Regions from separate parts of the Homo sapiens genome. Here region 2 is linked to region 1. The links are contacts of gene promoters, found by promoter capture Hi-C in blood cells and fetal thymus (Javierre and others, 2016). All regions are on one chromosome and are shown on one strand. Each heading gives the region's core, a stretch centred on a gene start or on the middle of the fragment in contact. The rest is flanking DNA. Distances are from core to core; before and after follow the strand shown. Region 1 holds the start of OR52K1 (olfactory receptor family 52 subfamily K member 1). Region 2 has its middle 17 kb from the start of TRIM21.

Region 1 (6,533 bases), core at 627-3,126:
CTCTTCTTGTGCTGCCCATATCTCAGAACGTAACATCCTGCCCAACCAGTTGCTCAACCTAGAATCAAGTCATCCTGGATTCTTCTCTTTTCTTCCTGCATCATATTTAATCATCAGCAAGCACACTGGATCATCCTACATAGTAAATCTCCACGTTGCCCATTGCGTTTCCAACACTTCCACCCTTCCAACACCATCACCCTTGTTCAAGCCACAGCATCTCCCAGCAACTACTGCTACAAAAGAATCCTAACAAGTACACAAAGTTCCACTTTGTTCTCCAATATTTATCCTTCAACAATTACCCACCATATCATGAAGTGAAGGGACTGGAGTTAAGAAACTCTACCTATTTTCCTTCTGTAAACCCAGCCTCTAACATACATAGGTGTGGAACATTTCACTAAATAAAACAGACTACTAGATTATTGGAAGACATATTTCTCAGAATACTACTCCCCTCATGTGATTTAAGCTCAGAATTTGGGTTATCTTCTCATTTAAAATGCATCCAGAATGGAGGTTCTAAGCATCCCGATTACAATACTTTGTTACCTGCATCAGAATAAAATTCTCTTCTTAATGGAAAATACTATTTTAAATATTCATAATGTTTGTGCATTTTTGTCAGGAACAAGCTCTTATGACAACAGACATTTTTATTTTCAAGTACATATCAGTACCTAGAAACATGCCTGGCGTCTAAGAAACTCTTCTAAAATACTGTGAAATAATCCCACAAACCTGCTGCATCTTTACCTTATCTCAATATGTATTTTCCACAAAACCCACATGTTTTACTTTGAGTCTCCATGTCCCCCTAGATTCCTCCATTCAACTTTTAAACATCACTAACCACCCTGTGAGCTGTCTACCCATCTTCATACAAGAAAAAAAGGCATCTCTTCTATCAGATTTCTTCCTGAAAAGACAGGGTGTCTAATAGTTCATAAATCTTACTTCCTTTGAAGTTCATCTAAAATCAACTCCTCAGAATGAAGTGCTCTGAGTAGGAGTGTGAATGGAGCCAGTCTTCTTCCCCTAATATCCAGAAACTAAGACCTCCTCTGTAGTGCAAGTTTTGTCCAGACTGTTCATTGTTTTCAGAACTAAGATGTCCATGCTCAAAGGATTTATCTTCTATTTCTCCTTAAAAAAGGCCTCTGTACCCAGAATGGACTCAATTAATACTGAATCTATTTGGTTGCCTATACCTTTATCTTAAAAGGATATCAGAATGACATATCTGAAAAACTTAGAACCAGACAAGGAAGGATAATCACATAATCAAGATACTTCAGGACTGCTTCTGGTAGAAGAACCTCAAAGATAAGGTATTTCTTACCTTTCCCTGCCATCTTTCTAGTTCAGGCCTCGTTTTCTTCCTCTTGACTAATGCAGAAGCCCTTTAACTGGGATGGGGCATTTGCCAGGGGTTAGAAAAAGCAATGACAGGAGGTGAGAAGTGACAGATCCAAACTGGAATAATCAACTAAGACTTCTTGGAGATGGCCCACAGTGTTTGGCATAGGACGGAAGCAGGCATCCTCTGTGGTGGGGAGAGCATCTGGAGTTTGTGTACCAAACAGTTGGGTGGGACTATCGAGACTTCTGTTCCCTCTATTGAAGGACCAGAGTAGAAGCAATAACAGGGTTGGAGAGCTGATGCCTAAGATCAGGAATGGCTATGGGAAGAAATTGACAGTGCCCCCACCTTCCAGCTCACTCCCACCTTCCTGCTCACCCCAATAACATCACTTGTTTTCTATTTCCCTAAGTTGCAGCTGTATCCACAGTCCTCAGTCTGACTTACAATCCTGGGCCCTTTTCATTAGCTTCATGCAGCACCAGTGCCGCCTTCCTCTTTCAGTCTAAGGAGTCTTAGAAGGAGGAAGCTGGGAAGCGAGCAGCTGGCTTTAATCCTCACCAACCTCTGCCCTTCTCCCAGAAGGCTGTGGAAGCAGAAACTGCTGCACTTGAGCAGAGTCCTCAGAGACATCTCTGGCCTCCTCTCTCTGGGTTGATGCAAGGGGACTTCCCCTGACCCAAGGGGACTGTATCCTTGTTTCCTACAACCCATGCCTCCTCCCCAGCTAGTGGCACTGAGTTGTGCCTACCAGGGGTCATGCCCTACTTGCCAGAGGCTGTGAGACTTTCAGGTGGAGCTGGCTTGTGTCTTGGTGTTTGCTGTGCCTCTCCTTACTCTTTATCCTTACAGTGTCTTCAAAGAAAGCCAGCCTCATCAGAAAATATACACTGCAGGCAACTCCTGTCAGAACTGACTTGAAAGGGCAGGGAGTCCAGCCTGACCAGGCCAAGGTCATCCATTAGGCATTTTATTTTGCATTCATATTTCATATTGGCCTGAGATATGCATTAATAACCAGCTCGTGAACTTGATCTGGCACCTGTCTGATCCCTGATCTATTTTTCTTATCTCTAAGGTAGAGATAACTTTTACAATATTTTCTAACTCACAAGGATAGGAGGATCTAAGTAGATAAACAAGAGGCCACTATGAATGTGATTCCTTATTAATAATTAGGAAATTACCAATCATCTATAAATGATAAAGAGTGATCTTTCTACCTACAGCTGACTTAATGTGTGCTATTTTTCAAGGACCTGAGAAGATGCTTTTCACTAGAGTTCTCCATGGATTTTGTCTACCCTAATTCCCCATAATTTTTAAAAGCAATCTCAGAACGCTGTAACTCAGTCATCTCACTCCCTTCCCACACAGGTACCCTGGAACTAACTTCCCCTTCTGTAATAGTTGGCCCTCAAGGGTGTGGACTCAGCACTCCTCCATGATAAGTCTGATCTTTTGGGATGCTGGGATAAAGTGGAATTCCTACATAGTTTTAACAATGTACAGCTAGGCCAAGGGGATACAGCCTGTATGAAAAGCACCTCACCAAAACCTAATATGGCAAAAGCCAGATAAAAGCCAGACAAGAGCCAGATAGAATAGACAGTGTTTTTGTGAACAAAGCACCTTAATTTGCCCCCAACTCCATTCTGAATGGGCAATCCTGACATCATAGGAGCAGGATAAGAAGCACATGGAGTGGGGGAGTGGGCAGTGGGGCCATTGGCTCAAACCATGCTGGAGATAACTGCTGGAATATTGGAACACTTAGACTGTTTAATTCATTGACATCCTCCCCACCCTATCTTTTCTTTTGTAAAATCTAGATTCTTTTACATTCATATGCATCTTTGTTTTGGTGTTCTTCATTCCCTCCAGGTTTTTCATGTTTCCATCTGGATCATTTTTTTTCTGCATGAAAAACTACTTTTATTTTTGCTTTTATTACAGGCCATATAGTGACACATTCCATCAACTTTTGCTCATTTGTAAAATTATCTTAGTCATCTTTGTTTGTGAAAGATGACTCACCTCCCGGGCCTCTGTCTAAAATTCTATTTCAATTTGAATAGGTTTTTAAATGGGCAATTCTTCTTTCATCCACTTTAGTATATTAATTGTATTCTGCCTTCACTTGCTTTTTTTGAAGTCAAGTATCTATTAATATCAGTCTTATTGTTGATCCTGTGAATATAATGTGCCCTACCCATACCTGGGTGCTGCTTTCTTTTTTTTTTTTTCCAGTTAGCTGTGATCACACAGAACATTGTAGGCCTTTGTATCAGTCTGTTCTCACACTGCTATGAAGAACTACCTGAGACTGGGTACTTTTATGGAGAAAAGAGGTTTGACTGACTCACAGTTCCTGCAGGCTGTACAGAAGCATGGCTGGGAGGCCTCAGGAAACTTAGTCATGGCAGAAGATGAAGGGGAAGCAAGCAGGTCTTACCACAGCGGAGCAGGAAAAAGGGAATGGGGGCGGGGCCATACGCTTTTAAACAGAACATCAAGGGGGAAATCTGCCCCCATGATCCTATCACCTCTCACCAGGTCCCCTCTTCTGACATGTGGGGATTACAATTCGAGAGGAGATTTGGGTGTGGACACAGAGCCAAACCATATCAGCCATGTAAGGATTTCACTTTGCAAAGGTTCATAATTTCTCTCGGAATAAAAGCCAAGGTTGAGCAGTGAATTGACATTATTTGACATATGTTTTTTAGATATTGCTTCTGACTTAATGGGAACAGCACAAGATGATGAGGATGAAAGCAGAGAAAGGATTACAGATGCTATTGTAGGCATCCAGAGAGAAGATGGTGTTTCCAAATCAATGTGTTAATCATATATATGGAGAGAAATCAGATGTATCAGATTTTATATCTATTTTTTAAGTGCCAGTGGGAATTCCTGAAAAATTAGCTCCAGGCTGTGAGAGAAAAAGAAATCAAAGATAACACCAAGACTCCTTGCTTGAGGAACACGTAGGTGGGAAGGTGTTGTGAGGGTTGCTAGGCAGAACAGGATCCTATACTCAAGCATTGATCCTACTTTAAGGATGATGTGCACCTCTGTGTCCTAGCTTGGAATGTTGGGATGACCTAGTTTTTGAGTGATTAGAAGTATTGCATCTAGGCCTAGATAACTGCATCAAGTTTCCTTTATCCTAATCTATATACCCATCTATATGGGTATAAAATTATATGTGCCTGTAGGCTACTCATATTTCTTATTCATGTTTTGATTGTGTGCTAAACTCAAATGAGCTCATAGAGAAGGTAATTTTCCTTTTACTATTTGTGACTAATCCTGGCTGTGCTAATGTTATGTTGATATATTACCTGTCTATGGGATCCTTATACTACTGGACTTGTTCTGGGAACAAAATTATTTCTTCACTGGGGATAGATATGACCTTAAGGATGATGTTATTCCCCGTATAAGTCAATGGGAAAATAAGATTTCTCTTGTTGGAAATACCTTTTAAAATTCATGCTCTTTTCCATGTTTGTTTATATGTGGTTACAACTTAGTGTTTATTTTTTAGCTGCCCACCTGCCCCAACTATTCTCAGACAAAATAATCAAGAGGTGTTGACTACATGAGGCATTTGTCTTTGTGTCTGAGGGATTCATGGGAGCAGTGATGGAATATAAGGGGAAGCAAGAGTGTAGGTTCTTGCAATACTCTTGTCTCCTGCACAGCTTCCAACCTTCTACACCACACCTGACAAATGCTTGGAGATTGTTTCAAAGATAACTAATATAGAGAGAGATAGAGATGCTTCCTAAACAGTAGTCTCTGAGGAAACAATGAAAGGGGTCACAAAAAATGAAGTACAAGAATGCATTTGTGGAAGATGATGTATGAAAATATACTCATTTTCTAGGCTGTAATAACAAAATACCACAGACTGGATGGTCTCAATACAGAAACCTATTTTCTCAATTCTGGAAGCTAGATGTTCAAGTTAAGGTGTGGCAAGGTTGATTCCTTTTGAGGCCTCTCTCCTTGGCTTGGACATTATCTTCTCCTTGTGTCTTTTCTTATATGGACACCTGTTGTATTAGATTGAGTGCCATCCTAATAACTTCATTTTAACTTAATTAACCTCTTTGAAGACCTTATCTCCAAATACAGTCATATTACTCTGAGATACTAGGGTTTAGGACTTCAACATATGAGTTTACTGAAAGGAGACACAATTCAGCTCATAACACCCTGCCTTCTGGCTCCCTAAAGTCTAGTCCTTCCCACATGCAAAATACAAGCATCCCCAATTCCAGGGGTTAACTGTAAATACAAAATCTCATCTAAATGTAATATCTAAATCGTTTATGTGACACTCTGGTATGAATCCATCCTGAGGCAAAATTTCCCTCCATCTATAAACCTGTGAAACCAGACAAGCTACCTGTGACCAAAATATAATGGTAGAACAGGCACAGGATAGGCATTCCCACTCAAAAAGGGAGAAATCAGAATAAAAGTGTTATGAGTCACAAATAAGTCTAAAACCTAGCAGGGCAAATTACACTTGATTTAAGGCTCAGAATAATCCTTTTTGACTCAATGGACAGCAGCCCTAATCCCTCAGTCCTGGGTTAGAGGCACCCTGGCCTTCTGAAACCAATGGGCTGGCTCTGCCCTCTGGAACCAAGGAAGAGGCAGCCTAACCTCCTGGATCTGTGTCTTTTGGGCTTGTGGTGGCAGTGGTATCCCTGCCAACCTCTGAACAACCTTAGGGTATGTTCTCCCTTTTCTTTAAGGATAATGCACGTTTGCAGCTAAATAGCTGTATTGGGCCATCCTCTGGAATCCCGGAAGTCCAGCTACCTTCTTTCATGTCATCCTAACTCTGTTCATTTCTGCTGCTAATAAAATTCTCAAAAAGCATGTTGGTCTCTGATGCAATTCATGGGGTCCAAACTATCAGATAAAAGGGATTCCTGTGAGTCTTTCCTGCATAGCCCCATCTCTATTCCTGGCTTCTGCTGAGATGGCTGATTGTATTCATAAACACATGCCTAATCCTTTTTTTAAAAATTGGCACATATTAATTGTACATATTTAGAGGGTGCAGGCAATATTTCCATACATGTATACAACTGGTAATGATAAAATCAGGGTAATCAATTTGAGATAATCTGTCACCTCAAAT
Region 2 (6,825 bases), core at 568-3,067, 70 kb after region 1:
TCTTACTCATCCAGTTTCCAAAAGACCATGAATAGTGCAAAGACTATTTCTTTCTCTAATCAGGTGAAATCTATCCCCAAGAGCCAAGATAGGAGTCACTACAAGGAGATGACCCAGATTAGAGAAGGTTGGGGACCCTCCTCCACCAAGAAGCTTTCTATGGCAACCAGTACTCAAGGGAATGTGAGGCTTTTAAGCCTCTGGCCTTGCCAGCTGAGTCCTGGGGCCAAGAAGAAAGTTACAGAAAAATGGGCCCTAGAACTGCATCCCTAGCCTAGCTAAGACTGTCAGGAGCTGGGAGCCCACATTTTCCCCAAGCCCATGACGCTGTTGTGCGTTAGCCAAAATTAGGTCTAATCCTGCTCTGCTCAGAAATAAGCTTAGCATAAACCTGCCCAGGCCAAGTACCTGTATCCAGGAAGTCACAAGCTCTCCACAGGGTCCCCAGCTCCCTCCAGAACAACTCAGACCCCCTCCACCCATGTTGCTTCAAACAGACAGCTTTATGTCATAGGGATGAACGCAGGATGTGTGGGGAAGGTTCCTTTTCTCCACAGCTCCTTCCTCCCCACACCATTTAAAAACTGAGAAATACTAAGGAGTTGCCATTGGGTTTTAACACAGGACTTGGATCCTGAAAGCTATCAATGAAATCGCAGTGAGATCTGACTAAAATAAAACTGGAGCTTCTCCAAGGGTTTTAGTTTATGTATAGAATTAAGATCCATATAGAAAAAAAATCATTATTAAATAAATCTGAACCTATTTTGTTAAATTCTGTGCTTTAATCTCTTTAAATATTTTTAAACAGTAGATCCTCTTTAAATCTGACCATAGAAATATTGTCTCACTTTCATAGTTGGCAACCAAAATCCTTGATTAAATTTAACTGGTGAAGCCAGGGTCTGGAGTGGATCAGGAATATCTCTAGTATTGAAAGACATTAAATTTTAAGTGACAGATGGGTGGATGGATGGATAGATAGATAGATAAATAGACTCAGCCTCGTACAGAGGCCTTTGTATGTAAATCACTGGCTCCTGTGAATTTTTGTAACCTGGCCTTCTGTCATCTTCCCTCCAGAGTACAGATACTGCTAATCTATCTATTAGCTGCTGAGATATTTGCAAATGTAATCTCTCTTTAACTTCCTTGAATATTTTTAATAGCACAAATAATGTGTAGTTTATTAAAAGCATGCATCTCATATTGGCATTTCAAAGGTTGGGACAGGTTGGTATATTTTATATATTTTATCCTAGGTAGGCAGCACAGGGTTAGAAGTGTGTGCTCTAGACCCAAACTGTCTGAGTTTAAATCCTGGCTTTACTACTTATTAATTGTAAGACGGTGGGCAAATTTATTAACTCTTCTATGTCCTGTGTTCTTGTCCTGAGGGAAATAAGAGAACTTCTGTCATTGAGTGGCGGTGAGGTTAAAGGAGCTCATGAAGAAATCCTAAGACCTGAATAAGTGGTAACAATGATCAGCTATTACATAGCTGACAGCCTTCTGACTTGAGTTAGCCTAGGATAAGATGGAGGGTGGCTCCCCTCTGTCCCTCCTCAAACTAGTCAGAATATGTCATCGAAGGGGAGGTTTCATCAAAGCAGCTAGACCCAAGGTTGAGGCAGAGTCCATACTGTAGGCCTGTTTCTGTCCCACAAGCAGAAGTCCCACAGTAGGATTCAGGACACCTATCAAATTCAGCCTATGCTACGAGCAGCCACCGCAGATGAACCTGGAGGACCATAGATACATTGTTTTTCTCATATTTGACCAGTTGGTTGAGGATTGAAGAGGAACATCGTTGCCTTTAATCATGAGATGACCATGTTCCTGGATCATCAAGGAATAGTCCAGCCCAAAAAAGGTAATGTTGTGATAACAGTCCATCACAAATACCCACCCAAACTCATTATTTTATAAGAAGGAGGATCAGTAAAGGCCTTAAGTAACTCTCTCTTCTCAGGTTATGGAAGGACCCGAAGCTGCCCACCCTAAACAGATTCCATTCAGGCCAGTGGTCCAAGGCCTCAGAGCTCAGGCTCCCCAGCCCAGACCCCAGATTTGACACTCTAGCCCCTGAACTTACCACACCTCCAGAGCTTGTATCTCCTCTCATCTGTTTCTCTGTGAAAGTAATTCTTGCTGTGTCAGTAAAAGTCAACACTTTATAATCCTCTTGATGGAGGTAGGGAAATAACAGGTCTGCTGGGATCCAGGTGCAAATCCAAGAGATTTCCACAATTTAACTTCCTGAACCCCCTGAGTTCTGAGCCAGGCAGCTCTGGGACATGGAAGGATGCATCAGGCAGTGTATCCTAATGATTCACACCTGAGGATTTTTCTTAGAGGGCACCAGAAGGATATTAAGATGTCCCATGGCTGGAGGCAGTGGCTCACACCTGTAATCCCAGCACTTTGGGAGGCTGAGGCGGGCAGATCACAATGTCAGGATATCGAGGCCATGCTGGCTAACACAGTGAAACCCCGTCTCTACTAAAAATAGAAAAAATTAGCCAGGCGTGGTGGCAGGTGCCTGTAGTCCCAGCTACTTGGGAGGCTGAGGCAGGAGAATGGCGTGAACCCGGGAGGCAGAGCTTGCAGTGAGCCAAGATTGTGCCACTGCACTCCAGCCTGGGTGACAGAGCGAGACTCTGTCTCAAAAAAAAAAAAAAAAAAAAAAAAAAAGATGTCCCATACTGCGTACCTCCTCTTTCCAAAGAGCCAGGCTATGAATTGCCTGGTGGCAAATGGAGGCTAGTTGGGGGAAAGAGGATGGTTAGAGACTGAGACACACTCTGTCCTTTAGGGATAACAGAGGCCATGAGTAATTCCTGCTTCTAGAAAGAATGAACACAGGCTCTTTTCAAATTCTGCCAAAGAGATATCAGGCAGTGTAGCCAAAGAGATGTGCATGAGTGCTTTAAACACAAGAGCAAGTTAGCGAAGAGAAAAGAGCTTCTCTGTCTAACTTTATGCCTGTACCTAGAGAATGTAGGTGACTGAAAATCTATATTGATAAAGCAATATCCCTTTCTCCCAGTAACACCTTTGGAGATTATTTATCAAGCATAATATAGTGAAAAAGCCACGATCTATTTCAGAATCTGTCACTTGTCAACTGTGAGCAAATTATCTCCTTGAGCCTCTTATTCTTTATTCATAAACTAGGGATGATGGTTATTTCATGAGATCATTGTTAGTATTATATTAGAATATACAAAGGGTGCAAAAAAAAAAAAAAGCTTGCAAGCTCCACACATAACTTCCTCTCCAATAGGAAACTGAGAACTGGTTCAATAACCTGTCTGGATTCCTCTATGGCCAGCATGTCATACTAACCCTCCCCCACAATTCATGGTCAGAGCTTGTTTTTGTTTTTTTTTTAATAAGTTTTATTCTGGAATAATTTTAGATTTACAAAAAAGTTACAAATATAGTTTACGGAGTTTCTGAATGTCCTTCACCCATTTTCCTTAATGTTAACATCTTACAGAACCATAGTACATTAGTCAAAACCAAAGGACTAATATTGGTACATCGCTATTAACTAAAGTCCACACTTTATTTGGATTTCACCTGCTTTTCCAATGTCTTTCTTCTGTTCCAGGATCCAATCCAGGATATCAAATTGCATTTACTCATTATTTCTCCTTAGTGTCCTCTGGTCTGAGATGGAAGTTTCTCAGTTTTTCCAAGGTTTCCATGACCTTGAGAGTCTTGAAGAACACTGGCTAGGTATTTTACAGAAGATCAGAGCATTTAATTAACCAACTTCAGCTATCACTTCCTCCTCCATTTCTAGGATGGAGAGGACAATCTAGAGTTGAAAGGCTTTGCTACAGATGTCCTTTGTTTCACTGCAGGTCCCAGTGTGTCCTGGAGATTAGGGAAGAGAAAATTTCAAAGTTCAGTCTGCTCAAGTCCCTTAGTTCCTGAGATCATCCAAGTTGTCCTTCCAACCTGGAGACCAATCTCAGACCTCCGTGGGCTGCAACCCAATACAGGCATTCTCGTATCTGTCACACATCCTATGTTCATGCATTGAAATTTAAGTCAGAAATTTCACAGGTTCTTAACAAGTTTCAGTCTCTAAAGTTAATAAGAAATTTTTAAAGGATTTGTATGTGTATTTTGCTGAAATACTTCAGAAGTATTTAACTTCTCTCTGATGAAATATTTTCTTTAGCTTCTCTACAGCCTGTCTCTAGAATCCTTCATTTGCCTTAAAACTAATAAATGTGGCCACAGTCAGATTGTCTGTCACATCTGGGATATGAGAGAAAATGATAAATGGAAGTAGACAGGTGAAACACAAGATCAATTCTATCTGCTCGTATGGAGACTACTGCCATTCACCCACTTCAGCCATCCCCTCGTCCTCAATCTCCAACATAGAGAGGGTAGCCTACAGGTGAAAGGCTCAGTTACAGATGTCCTGGAACTCTGCAGTTCTCTCTGTTTCACTGCAGTCCCAGTGTGTTTTCTTCATTCTAAAATCTACATTTTCAATAGTCTTTTCAGTGGTTCACAAAATTGGGGTTTCTTTATGCACTGTGCTTTACTTAGAGGTTAACCAGGTACCAATTCTGTTCTCAAGCAGCTATGACCCTAAAACACAGTAAACCATATGTGAAAACTGAATTGCTACATTACACTACACCCTAGCCAATAACAGAGAAATAAGACTTTGTGTAAGAGAGGATGGTATTGGAGACTTTGAGGATGTGTTAGCCTTAAATATATAGACATAAAAGTCTTGCCAGCATTGTAGTTAACTGGATATGAAATCAGACAGAACTAAAACTCCTTATTAGCCAAGTGGCCCCAGAATAGATACTGAGCCTCTAAAAGTATCAGTTTCCACTCTATAAAATTGAGATACTAAAACAATCTGGAGCGGTTTAAGTGACATGTTATATACAAAACAGTGGGCCTTATTTTTCACTGTTTCAGCATCTTTTTTATTATACTTTATTTTAAGTTCTGGGATACATGTGTAGACCATGCAGGTTTGTTACATAGGTATACATATGCCATGGTGGTTTGCTGCACCCATCAACCCATCATCTACATTAGGTTTTTCTCCTAATGCTATCCCTCCCCTAGCCCCTCACCCCCAGACAGGCCCCTGTATTGATGTTTCCCTCCCTGTTGCCATGTGTTCTCCTTGTTCAACTCCCACTGATGAGTGAGAACATGTGGTGTTTGGTTTTCTGTTCCTGTGTTAGTTTGCCGAGAATGATGGTTTCCAGCTTCATCCATGTCCCTGCAAAGAACATGAACTCATCCTTTTTTATGGCTGCATAGTATTCCTCGGTGTATATGTGCCACATTTTCTTTCTCCAGTCTATTACTGATGGGCATTTGGGTTGGTTCCAAGTCTTTGCTATTGTGAATAGTGCCACAATAAACATATGTGTGCATGTGTCTTTATAGTAGAATGATTTATAATCCTTTGAGTATATACCCAGTAATGGGATTGCTGGGTCAAATGGTATTTCTGGTTCTAGATCCTTGAGGAATCACCACACTGTCTTCCACTAATTTACACTCCCACCAACAGTGTAAAAGCGTTCCTGTTTCTCCACATCCTCTCCAGCATCTGTTGTTTCCTGACTTTTTAATGATCAGCATTCTAAGTGAGATGGTATCTCACTGGGGTTTTGATTTGCATTCCTCTAATGACCAGTGATGATGAGCTTTTTTTCATATGTTTGTTGGCCACATAAATGTCTTCTTTTGAGACATTTATATCCTTCTGTCTGTTCATATCCTTTGCCAACTTTTTAATGGGGTTGTTTTTTCTTACAAATTTAAGTTCCTTGCATATTCTGGATATTAGCCCTTTGTCAGATGGATAGATTAAAAAAATTTTCTCCCATTCTGTAGGTTGCCTGTTCACTCTGATGATTGATAGTTTCCTTTGCTGTGCAGAAGCTCTTTAGTTTAATTAAATCACATTTGTCAATTTTGGCTTTTGTTGCCATTGCTTTGGTGTTTTATTCATGAAGTCTTTGCCCATACCTATGTCCTGAGTGGTATTGCCTAGGTTTTCTTTTAGGGTTTTTAATGTTTTTAGGTCTTACCTTTAAGTCTTTCCTTTATCTTGAGTTAATTTTTGTAAAAGGTGTAAGGAAGGGATCCAGTTTCAGTTTTCTACATATGGCTAGCCAGTTTTCCCAACACCATTTATTAAATAGGGAATCCTTTCCCCTTCCCCATTGCTTGTTTTTGTCAGGTTTGTCAAAGAGCAGATGGTTGTAGATGTGTGGGATTATTTCTGAGGGCTCTGTTCTGTTCCATTGGTCTATATCTCTGTTTTGGTACCAGTACCATGCTGTTTTGGTTACGGTAGCCTTGTAGTACAGTTTGAAGTCAGGTACCATGAGGCCTCCAGCTTTGTTCTTTTTGCTTAAGATTGTCTTGGTTATACAGGGTCATTTTGGTTGCATATGAACTTTAGTTATTTCTAATTCTATGAAGAAAGTCAAGGGTAGCTTGATGGGAATAGCACTGAATCTGTAAATTACTTCGGGCAGTATGGCCATTTTCACAATACTGATTCTTCCTACCCATGAGCATGGAATATTTGTCCATTTGTTTGTGTCCTCTCTTATTTTCTTGAGCAGTGGTTTGTAGTTCTCCTTGAAGAGGTCCTTCACATCCCTTGTAAGTTGGATTCCTAGGTATTTTATCCTCTTTGTAGCAATTGTAAATGGGAGTTCACTCATGATTTGGCTCTCTGTTTGTCTGTTCTTGGTGTATAGGAATGCTTGTGATTTTTGCACATTGCTTTTATATCCTGAGACTTTGCTG

What was found. Contacts are between HindIII fragments. The CHiCAGO score rates a contact against its expected background, and 5 or more counts as called.
Region 2: a contact is called between a fragment that was not itself captured here and the fragment with the promoter of OR52K1 in region 1, in 1 of 17 cell types (monocytes). The highest score is 6.3, in monocytes.

The regions. Positions count from the first base shown.
Region 1 is chr11:4,477,989-4,484,521 of GRCh38, reverse strand. OR52K1 (olfactory receptor family 52 subfamily K member 1) reads right to left here and starts at 1,876. Exons shown (of 2, transcript NM_001005171.3): 1 at 1,346-1,876. The HindIII fragment of the contact is 19,878 bases long and covers 1-6,533 here.
Region 2 is chr11:4,407,459-4,414,283 of GRCh38, reverse strand. No RefSeq gene overlaps it. Among named protein-coding and RNA genes, the nearest start is that of TRIM21, 17 kb to the right of the region's middle. The HindIII fragment of the contact is 2,872 bases long and covers 382-3,253 here.